4 separate regions of the Homo sapiens genome follow, and all the other regions are linked to region 1. The links are contacts of gene promoters, found by promoter capture Hi-C in blood cells and fetal thymus (Javierre and others, 2016). All regions are on one chromosome and are shown on one strand. The core of a region is centred on a gene start or on the middle of the fragment in contact, and the rest is flanking DNA. Distances in the headings are between cores, read along the strand shown. Region 1 holds the start of ZNF470 (zinc finger protein 470). Region 2 holds the start of ZNF383 (zinc finger protein 383). Region 3 overlaps ZNF585B (zinc finger protein 585B). Region 4 overlaps ZNF607 (zinc finger protein 607).

Evidence for each region. Contacts are between HindIII fragments. The CHiCAGO score rates a contact against its expected background, and 5 or more counts as called.
Region 2: a contact is called between a fragment that was not itself captured here and the fragment with the promoter of ZNF470 in region 1, in 8 of 17 cell types (non-activated CD4 T cells, activated CD4 T cells, total CD8 T cells and 5 more). The highest score is 14.1, in non-activated CD4 T cells.
Region 3: a contact is called between a fragment that was not itself captured here and the fragment with the promoter of ZNF470 in region 1, in 1 of 17 cell types (total CD4 T cells). The highest score is 9.7, in total CD4 T cells.
Region 4: a contact is called between a fragment that was not itself captured here and the fragment with the promoter of ZNF470 in region 1, in 1 of 17 cell types (non-activated CD4 T cells). The highest score is 6.0, in non-activated CD4 T cells.

Annotation. Positions count from the first base shown.
Region 1 is chr19:56,566,018-56,568,717 of GRCh38, reverse strand. ZNF470 (zinc finger protein 470) reads right to left here and starts at 1,250. Exons shown (of 6, transcript NM_001001668.4): 1 at 680-1,250. ZNF470-DT (ZNF470 divergent transcript) reads left to right here and starts at 697. Exons shown (of 2, transcript XM_047439806.1): 1 at 697-1,645. The coding sequence starts at 697. The coding sequence ends at 1,635. RefSeq lists enhancers at 811-920, 1,301-1,510, 1,521-1,570. The HindIII fragment of the contact is 7,993 bases long and covers 1-2,700 here.
Region 2 is chr19:37,216,070-37,218,769 of GRCh38, reverse strand. It overlaps ZNF383 (zinc finger protein 383), which reads right to left and starts at 556. Exons shown (of 6, transcript NM_001387601.1): 1 at 496-556. RefSeq lists an enhancer at 441-930. The HindIII fragment of the contact is 190 bases long and covers 1,246-1,435 here.
Region 3 is chr19:37,191,405-37,194,104 of GRCh38, reverse strand. All of the region lies in intron 2 of ZNF585B (zinc finger protein 585B), which reads left to right. Among named protein-coding and RNA genes, the nearest start is that of ZNF585B, 18 kb to the left of the region's middle. The HindIII fragment of the contact is 4,429 bases long and covers 1-2,700 here.
Region 4 is chr19:37,697,531-37,700,230 of GRCh38, reverse strand. It overlaps ZNF607 (zinc finger protein 607), which reads left to right. Exons shown (of 5, transcript NM_032689.5): 5 at 336-2,700. The coding sequence ends at 2,191. Among named protein-coding and RNA genes, the nearest start is that of ZNF607, 21 kb to the left of the region's middle. The HindIII fragment of the contact is 1,344 bases long and covers 716-2,059 here.

The DNA.
Region 1 (2,700 bases), core at 1-2,500:
TGAAGTTTGGTGCTGATACTCCCAAAAGGTCTTAGAACTGTGTCTGGCACATAATAAACACTCATTAAACATTAGCTATTACTATAGCATGCAGGAAACTAAACAAGCACAGAACAATATGGCTAAAAATAGCCCTTCCTCCCCCTTTCTCTTTATTGGAGTGGGAGGCCAGAGGGGAGGGAGAGAAGCCCAAGGAATGGGGATATCTTCCGTTATTGACTAGAACGTGATTAAGCCATAGAAAGGCTGGAATGCCTCGGCATTTCTGGGTGAAGCTGTGAATCTCGCCTTCTTCCCAAATCCTACAGTGATAGATGGGACAAGGCTCTGACGGGTAAAAATCTAAATGCTGAGCTATTCCTTCAACAGCAGCAGAGTACCCAGAAGTAATGCTATAATGGGTAATATTACGGGTAGTGTTCTCTCCCATGGGCCCTTAGTGATATACCAAGGACCTGAGTCAGGTTATCTGGTTAGGTGTCTCTGGCCAAGTCAAGGTCCCTCCCTAACTAAACCCAGCTCCACTCTGACCCAAGGTGACCCTCCAAATCTTTCGACTTCCAGGTCCACTAGCCTTAGAAACGGGGGACATCCTCCTCCAGCACCTGAACCCCGAAAGACAGCACCCAAAACCTCAATGTCCACTCCGGCAGCCACATCCGTCATCTGTCACTCTTACCTGTGTACTCAGTCCCCATGGTCTTCGCTCCTCGCCGTCCTGTGGACATGGAGCCCTGTCCTGGGCTCTGCCCCTTCCAGATAGGGCTGACAGGAAATGCTTCAGCCGAGGCTGCCCCGCCCGGGCAACTTCCCCGGGCTCTAGGACTTTGCCCACACTGGGCTCTACGCAGTCGATACAGGGGAGAACGGGGTAAGCCTCCTCCGGCCGGGTTTCCTGCTCTTGGCCACTTAAAGTGCTTCACTCATTCCAACACACACCGCCTTCCGCACGCCGCCGGGCCATGCACGCAGGCGCAGATTCGCGGCCACGCACCGGACAGTCACACACCGGGCCGCCATCCCCGCGCGCGCTCGCCCCTCCTCAGCACAGCACCGCACGCTCACCACGTATGGGCACTCACAGCCACCAGGCCACACGCGCACGCTCACGCCCGCCGCCCACACAGGAACCAGGACACCGCCCCCGCCGCGCCCCAGTCCAGCCTCGGCCGCTGCCCCGCCCAGACCTCCCTTCTCCTCAGCAACCGGCGGGACGTGCACTCGCCCGGCTTTGGGTCCTTTCCGGAAGTGGGCGTGTCCTCCGCTGCAATAGCCCCTGGGAAGTGTAGTCCGGAACGGAGGCGGCGTTCAGAAATAGGGCGCTGGCTTTGCCAGGAGCGGCTCCTCTCCAAGCCTGGCGGTCACTGCCCTGTGTCCCCTTTTGGGCCTCTCCTGGTCCTCCTGGTTGGATTAGGAGGCCTCTCAGCCCGGAGTCTGGGTCGCCGAAGTACAGGCCCCTTCACTGAAGCGACCCACGGCGCAGGGGTTTCTGGAAGCCATCGCCAGGCTCCGAGTGTTCAGATGCAGCTGCCAGGCTCAGGACGCAGAGAACTGGCTTCCAGCTCGCAGGAGCGCCTGTCCGTGGTGGGTAGGGTCGCAGGCGTGGGGTGTGCAGGAGCAGTGGGACAGCACTGAAACGCAGTCGGTAAGGCGTAGCGGCTACCCTCTGGAGAGGAAAACCATGACAGGGCGGGGCTTGGGGCGCGGGCGGGGCCTACGCGATAGAAAAGTGAGGAGATTGGGATTTGTCTGCTTTGCACACTTGTGACTTTCTGATGGTGCGCGTGTGGAACCTGTTTTATTTCATGCCTACTAGTTACTGCTCTCTGATATACGGTACGCCCCTCACCTCCCCCCACCCCATTTTATCTCTCCCTGCTGGAAGGAGGGTTCCAAGAAGGCACACAGCTTCCGTCCTGTTCAGGGTTATATTCTCAGTGACTAAAACAGCACATAGTAGGTGCTTAGTTTTTTATTTTTATTTTATTTTTTAGGAAATCACGAAATCTAGCATTGCCAGTCTCACCATGACACAACATGTTATAGGCTGAATATGTCCTCCCAAAATTACTATGGTGAAACCCTAACCCCTAGTGTGATGACGTTAGGAGGTGGGACTTTGGGGAGGTAACTGGTTTTAGATTAGGTCATAAGGGTGATACCCTTATGATGGGGTCAGTGCACTTATTAAAAAAGAGGAAGGAGGGGTCTCCATGTTTACACAACCACCAAGCAAAGGCCATGTGAGGACACAGCAGGATGTAACCCATTTGCAAGCCAACGGGGCCCTCACCAAGAACTGAATGTGCCAGCACTTTAACTTCCCAGCCTCCAGAATTGTGAAAAATAAAGTCTCTTAGTCAAGTCACTTAGTCTATGATATTTTGTTATAGCAGCCCCAGCTGACCAAGATACAGCATCATAGATACTGGCTCACCAGAAACTAACTCACCCTCCCAGTCACACTCAATCACCCAAGGCCACACAGTGACATCTAGACTGGACTCTCCTGGATCCAATTTATGTCAGACATCATAAACAACATAATAAAGCCAAGTCTAGCTGTGAAGATACTTTAACTATGAAACAGCAAATATCATCTTAGAGCTTGTAACGTTTGTGGTTATTTGAGTTGGATGAAAATGATAATATTCTCATTTTAGCTCTGGCATATAAAGAGCTCGGAAGCCTTCATTCCCA
Region 2 (2,700 bases), core at 91-2,590, about 19 Mb after region 1:
CATAAAGTTACATGGTCACACTCTCACATTCTCACGTTACTGGGTTATTTCTGGGTAGTAGATTTACTCAGTAAGGCATCCAGTACACTTAAGTGCTGCTAACAGTCATACAAACACAATTACACACACCCCTCAGACTAACACACAGTCACAGCCTCATCAGATTCTCTCCACACAAACACCCTCCACAAATGTCACGCAAAGTTACACAGCCACACACAATCACAGTCCCAACACGGGACACAGTCATACCTACACATACAGCCTTACATTGTTACAATTACACAACTACAACGAGGATATACAATCACACCCGCGCACACAGAGAGGCACAGTCACATAAGGTCACACTCACACACGGAAGCCCACGCCTCGCGCCCGCCTCCCCACCACCCCCTCTATCAGCCCGACCAACTCATACATGCCCGACACACTCATACATGCCCAACACTCCAGACCAGCCTGGTCAGTCCCTTCAAACTCCCATGCACGTACCTGCGGGCCCCAGCCGAGCCTGCAAGACCCAGGCCGCTCACCGCGCACTTCCCCTACCCTTGAGGCGGAGGGTCCAGCAGGCAAATGAAGGGGCTGCCCTGGACTCGCGGGGGCCTCTGGGAAATACAGTCCGGAGTAGGACCGCGCCGAGAAGATGGCGCCTGTTTTTTCGGGTTCTTGCAGCTGCACAGCTCGGGGACATCCCTGCTCCGCACTCCGAACCGCTACCCCGCGTCTCCGTGATCCAGACACAGGCTCAGAGTGAAACTGCCGTAGGACGCTGGCCCTGCACGCTGAAGACAATCTTCCTCCATGGTACCGGCCAACCCCAGGGAGTTCCCTGAGAAACAGGAAAAGGTCGCCAGCTTCGGGCCAGATGTTGACTAGAGCCGCAAGGATTTTTGGGAACTGTAGTCTAGAGCAGGAAGGGGTGAGGCGCTGGGGCAAGTGGAAGGAGGTCGCTTAAATGACTTCCTGCCCCAAGCCGACTCAGTGCAGAACGCACCCAGGACCCCGGACTGTACTAGGCGTTATAACGCTCTCTGAGAATGCTAGACTGACTAAATCGTCATTTTTGCCTTCATCCGTGGATAAGCCACATACTGTATGACTGCATTTATAGGAAATATTTAAAATAGTCAAATCTACGGAAAAGGAGTAAGTTAGAGTTTTTTAGGACTAGCAGGATTAGGGGGAACTGTGAGTGATTGGTAATAGCTAAAGGGTTCATTTTTGGGGTAATGCAAAGCTTCTTGAATTAGATAATGATGTTTGCACAACTCTGAATACACTAAAAGTGACTGAATGGTACACCATAAACGAGCTAATGTTATAGTTTGTAAATTATATTTGTGTGCATGTTTTTTAAAAATCAACTTTACTGAAGAATAATTTAGATACAATAAAATGCACTCATTTTAAGTGAACTGTTCGGTAAGCTTCAACGCATGTCTAAACCCTTGTCACCACCATCGTAATCAGGATATAGAATATTTTTTAAAATTAAAAAATTTTTAAGCATTTTAGTTAAATTTTTGTGGGTACATAGTAGTTGTATATGGGGTACATGAGATGTTTTGATACAGGCATGCAATGCGTAAGAATCATATCATGTAAAATAGGGTGTCTATCCCCTCAAGCATTTATCCTTAGTGTTACTGGATATAGAATTTTTTTTTTTTTTTTTTTGAGTTGGAGTCTAGCTGTCACCCAGGCTGGACTGCAGTGGCGAGATCTCGGCTCACTGCAAGTTCCGCCTCCCGGGTTCAAGCGATTCTCCTGCCTCAGCCTTCCGAGTAGCTGGTATTACAGGTGCCCGCCACCATGCCTGGCTAATTTTTGTATTTTTAGTAGAGACAGGGTTCGAGCTCACAGGCTGGTCTCGAACTCCCGACCTCGAACTTCTGACTTCGTGATCCGCTCGCCTCGGCCTCCCAAAGTGCTGAGATTACAAGCGTGAGCCACCGCGCCCGGCGGATATAGAATATTTTTATTCACCGCCCTCTGCCCCCCACATTGTTAAGTCAATCCCCACCTCCCAAACCCCACATCAGGCATCTATTGACTATTCTAAGGAATGAGCAGTAGTATCAAATTATGTTTTTAATTTGCATTTCCTGATGTCAATGAACTTAGCATACTTTCATATACTTATTTGCCATTCTTTTATCTTCTTTTGTGACATCTATTGAAAATATTCGGCTGGGCGCAGTGGCTCACGCCTGTAATCCTAGCACTTTGGGAGGCTGAGGCGGGCAGATCACCTGAGGTTGGGAGTTCGAGACCACCCTGACCAACGTGGAGAAACACCGTCTCTACTAAAAATACGAAATTGGCCAGGCGTGGCGGTGCATGCCTGTAATCCCTGCAGGAGAATCACTTGAACCCGGGAGGCAGAGGTTGCTGTGAGCTGAGATCACACTGTTGCACTCCAGCTAGGGCAACAAGAGCAAAACTGCATCTCAAAAAATAATAATAAATAAATAAATAAATAAAATTTTCTTATTTTAAAATTGGTTATTATTGAGTTGTAACAATTCTTTATATGTTTGGGTAAAAGTCCTTTGCCAAATATACATATTGCAAATTGCAAATATTCTCTCCCTGCCTGGGGCTTACCTTCTCAGTTTTTTTTTTTTTTTTTTTTTGAGACAGGGTCTTGCTCTGTTGCCTAGTCTGGAGTGCAGTGGTGTTAACATAGCTCAC
Region 3 (2,700 bases), core at 113-2,612, about 19 Mb after region 1:
TGAAACCACCTTCCTACACAGCTCCTGGATTATTTTAAAGTGAATCTCAAACACAATGTTTTATCTAAAAATACTTTGATATGTATCTCAAAGAGATGAATTCTTTTTTCTTTTGTTTAGCATAACAAATAAGTCAATATCACACCTACAACAAAATAACAGTAATTCTTTGTTATCATCTAATACCCATTGCTTGCATTTCTCTAAATTGTTGTAAATATCTTTTTAAGATTGGTTCATTTTAATTAGGGGCCAAAGTCCACAAGGTGCATTTGGTTAGTATGATTCGTAAGTCTCTTACTTTTTAAGTTTTATTTATTTTTTTGAGACAGGGTCTCCCTCTGTCACCCAGACTGGTGTGCAGTGGTGCATTAACGGCTCACTGGAGCTTCGACCTCCCGGGCTCAGTCGATCCTCCGACCTCAGCCTCCCGAGTAACTGGGACTACAGGTGCCTGCCACCAGGCATGGCTAATTTTTTTGGTATTTTTTTAGGGACAGGGTCTCACTGTGTTGCCTGGGCTGGTCTCAAACTCCTAGGCTCAAGCAATCCACCCACTTCGGCCTCCCAAAATACTGTGACTATAGGCGTGAGCCCCTGCCCTGGCCTTAGTTCTCTTTTTTTTTTTTTTTTTGAGACAGAGGCCTGCTCTGTCACCCAGGCTAGAGTGCAGTGGTGCAATCTCGGCCCACTGCAAGCTCTGCCTCCCGGGTTCACGCCATTCTCCTGCCTCAGCCTCCTGACTAGCTGGGACTACAGGCGCCCGCCACTGCGCCCAGCTAATTTTTTGTATTTTTAGTAGAGATGGTGTTTCACCATGTTAGCCAGGATGGTCTCAATCTTCTGATCTCATGATCTGCCCGCCTCGGCCTCCCAAAGTGCTGGGATTACAGGTGTGAGCCACCATGTCCAGCCCTATTTGCTGTTCTTTAAACTCATGTGGTGTTTTTTTTTGTTTTGTTTTGTTTTTAAGATGGAGTCTTGCACTGTCGCCCAGGCTGGAATGCAGTGGCGCAATCTCGGCTCACTGCAACCTCTGCCTCCTGGCTTCAAGCGATTCGCTTGCCTCAGTCTCCCAAGTAGCCGGGATTCCAGGCATGTGCCACTGTGCCCAGCTAATTTTTTGTATCTTTAGTAGAGAGGGGGTTTCAACATGTTGGCCAGGCTGGTCTCAAACTCCTGACCTCGTGATCCACCCACCTCGGCCTCCCCAGTTGTTGAGATAATAGGCGTGAGCCACTGTGCCCGGCCCTCATTGTGTATTTTAATATTTATTTATTTGTTTATTTATTTTTGAGATGGAGTCTCACTCTGTCACCCAGGCTGGAGTGCAGTGGCGTAATCTTGGGTCACTGCAACCTCCACCTCCCAGGTTCAAGCGATTCTCCTACCTCTGCCTTGGGTAGCTGGGATTACAGACACACACTACCACACCTGGCTAATTTTTTGTATTTTTAGTAGAGATGGGGTTTCACCATGTTGGCCAGGCTGGTCTCGAACTCCTGACCTTAGGTGATCCACCTGCCCCGGCCTCCCAAAGTGCTGGGATTACAGGCATGAGCCACTGCGCCCGGCCTTATTTTATTTTTTTTTTTTTTGAGACAGGTTCTCGCTCTGTCACTCAGGTTGGAGTGCGGTGATGCAATCGTGGCTCACTGGAGCCCATCTCCCCATCTTTTTGTTCTTGTCTTTGCTGGGCAATGTCCCCCTTACCCCATACTTTGTATTACTCTTCTTATCTTCCAAGTTAAATTCTTCCGCTCTATGAAATGTAAACTTATTTCCTCATGTAGAATGCACTTTTTCTTCTTTTTAGCCCTCAGGGTGTCTCAGATAGAGATCTACTTTTCAGCACCTTAATGAACTTAATGTCTTCACTTTTTCAAACTTTGGTCTTATTTATTTTCTATGTATTTCAGGTTGCGTGAAGACTAGTAACATAAATAATTCATTTCTGTGTCCTCAGGAGTAGCATAATGACTGGTCCTAAATTGATCAGCCACTGTGTGGCAGGTTGTTCATCCATGTGCTAGAAGACTAAAAGGCAGCCTATTTCTTTCTTTCTTTCTTTTTTTGAGATGGAGTCTTGCTCTGTATCCCGGGCTGGAATGCAGTGGCATGATCTCGGCTGACTGCAACCTCCGCCTCCCAGGTTCAAGCGATTCTCCTGCCTAAGCCTCCTGAGTAGCTGGGATTACAGGTGCTCGCCATGCCCGGCTAATTTTTTGTATTTTTAGTAGAGACAGGGTTTCACTATGTTGGCCACACTGGTCTTGAACGTCTGACCTCGTGATCCACCTACCTCGGCGTCCCAAAGTGATGGGATTACAGGCATGAGCCACCGGGCCCAGCCAAGACAGCCTATTTCAATGGCCAGTTTTGAAAAATGAGTGATTGACTGACTGTAGAACAGAACAAATAGCTGGAATTCTTTGTTAGATTTCTGTGTTCCACAAATTATGTAAAACTAGATTTTTTTTTTTTTTTTAGACAGAGTCTCCCTCTGTCGCTCAGGCTGGAGTGCCGTGGCATAATCTCAGCTCACTGCAAACTCCACCTCCCAAGTTCAAGTGATTCTCCCTCCTCAGCCTCCCAAATAGCTGGGACTACAGGCACGTGCCACCAGCCTGGCTAATTTTTTGTATTTTTAATAGAGACGGCATTTCACCATGTTGGCCAGGCTGGTCTCGAACTCCAAAC
Region 4 (2,700 bases), core at 138-2,637, about 19 Mb after region 1:
TGTCATTCTAGAGCCAGTTATGCACATATATTAATAAATCTGCATTAAATTGACAGCTAGAAATTGCCCTCAGTGGGAGTATTTACACCAGAGATCTTGGCAAACACTACAAAACAGGGCTCTGTGTGTGTGTGTGTCTCTTTGTGTATGTGTGCCTGTGTGTGTAAGGCTGCATTCCACTGCACAAACTCATTTTTTTAGCTCTCCTTTCATTTTTTATATTTTATAACTGTATTTTCGAGTTAGCATCTGTAATAGGTGAGAATTTCTCTTAATTCTACAATAACATTGACATTTTCTCATCCAATAAAATGTTTTTATTTTATGTCTTCTAGATTTGGATTCAAGATGTGAAATAATCAGCGATGGGAAAATGCAGCTTTATAGGAAACACTCATGTGTTACTCTCCATCAGAGAATTCATAATGGACAGAAACCATATGAGTGTAAGCAATGTCAGAAGTCCTTTAGTCATCTTACAGAACTCATGGTACATCAAACAATTCATACTAGTGAGGAACCTGATCAATGTGAAAAGTTTAGGAAGGCATTTAGCCATCTTACAGACCTTAGAAAGCATCAGAAAATTAATGCTCGTGAGAAACCTTATGAATGTGAAGAATGTGGGAAGGTCTTCAGTTATCCTGCAAACCTTGCTCAACATGGGAAAGTTCATGTTGAGAAACCCTATGAATGTAAAGAGTGTGGGGAAGCTTTTAGGACTAGCCGTCAACTTACTGTACATCATAGATTTCATTATGGTGAGAAACCCTACGAATGTAAGGAATGTGGCAAGGCCTTTAGTGTGTATGGACGACTTAGTCGACATCAGAGTATTCACACTGGTGAGAAGCCCTTTGAATGTAACAAATGTGGGAAGTCCTTTAGGCTCAAAGCAGGCCTTAAAGTACATCAGAGTATTCATACTGGAGAGAAGCCACATGAATGTAAGGAATGTGGAAAGGCCTTTCGTCAGTTTTCCCACCTTGTGGGTCATAAAAGAATTCATACTGGAGAAAAACCCTATGAATGCAAGGAATGCGGGAAGGGCTTTACATGTAGGTATCAACTTACCATGCATCAGAGAATTTATTCAGGGGAGAAACACTATGAATGTAAAGAAAATGGGGAGGCTTTTAGTAGTGGCCATCAACTTACTGCACCTCATACATTTGAAAGTGTTGAGAAACCTTATAAGTGTGAGGAATGTGGGAAAGCCTTTAGTGTGCATGGACGACTTACTCGACATCAGGGTATTCATAGTGGTAAGAAACCCTATGAATGTAACAAATGTGGGAAGTCCTTTAGGCTCAATTCATCCCTTAAAATACATCAAAATATTCATACCGGTGAGAAACCCTACAAATGTAAGGAATGTGGGAAGGCCTTCAGTCAGCGTGCACACCTTGCCCATCATAACAGAATTCATACTGGTTACAAACCCTTTGAATGTAAAGAATGTGGGAAGTCCTTTCGTTGTGCCTCATATCTTGTTATACATGAGAGAATTCATACAGGAGAGAAACCCTATGTATGTCAAGAGTGTGGGAAGGGTTTTAGTTATAGCCATAAACTCACTATACATCGCAGAGTTCATACTGGTGAGAAACCTTATGAATGTAAGGAATGTGGGAAGGCCTTTAGTGTATCTGGACAACTTACTCAGCATCTGAGTATTCACAGTGGTAAGAAACCCTTTGAATGCAACAAATGCGGGAAGTCTTTTAGGTTCATTTCTGTACTTAAAGCCCATCAGAATATTCATAGCGCTGAGAAACCCTACGAATGTAAGGAATGTGGCAAGGCCTTTCGTCATGCCACAAGCCTCATATATCATGACCGAACTCATGCTGGTGAAAAGTCCTATGAATGTAAAGAATGTGGGGAAACTTTTAGTCATGCTTCACATCTTATTATTCATGAGAGAATTCATACCAGTGATAAACCCTATGAATGTAAAAGATGTGGGAAGGCATTTCACTGTGCCTCATATCTTGTTAGACATGAAAGCGTTCATGCTGATGGAAATCCCTATATGTGTGAAGAGTGTGGGAAAGCTTTTAATAGTAGCCATGAACTTAGTATACATCATAGAGTTCATACTGGTGAGAAACCCTTTAAATGTAACAAATGCAGAAGGTCCTTTAGGCTTAGATCCATCCTTGAAGTACATCAGAGAATTCATATTTGATAGAGAAATTGTGGCATATACAGGTAGTAAAGAAAGCACATTGTGTCAATGGATTTATCCCACTGAACAATTTGAATGAAGACAATGTGGAATGGCTTTGAGATACAGTTCAGTTTTTATTAGGCATCAATTTGTATTGGTGTGAACTTTTCAAAATGTAAATCATATATGCAGTTTCTTTGGTATGACCTGTGTTAACTCAGATTCAGAGAATTTATAATGTATTTTTTTAATAACATAAGAAAACTTTTCTGATATTCCTCTAGTTTTGGATTGCCAAAATATTCACAGTAGAGGAAAACTGAGAAAACGTAGGAAACCATTCTTTATACTTGCATGTAAACATCTTCCAGCAACAATCATTTATTGTTAAACCTGGAAAAAGCCATTACACAGGAAACCTCTGTTGATATAAGCGATGATGGGAAAGGCTATTTAGCCACTCTGCATATTTAATGCTCATGATCAACATCTGCTTCCTATAGCTGGGATGATATGGGGGAAGATAT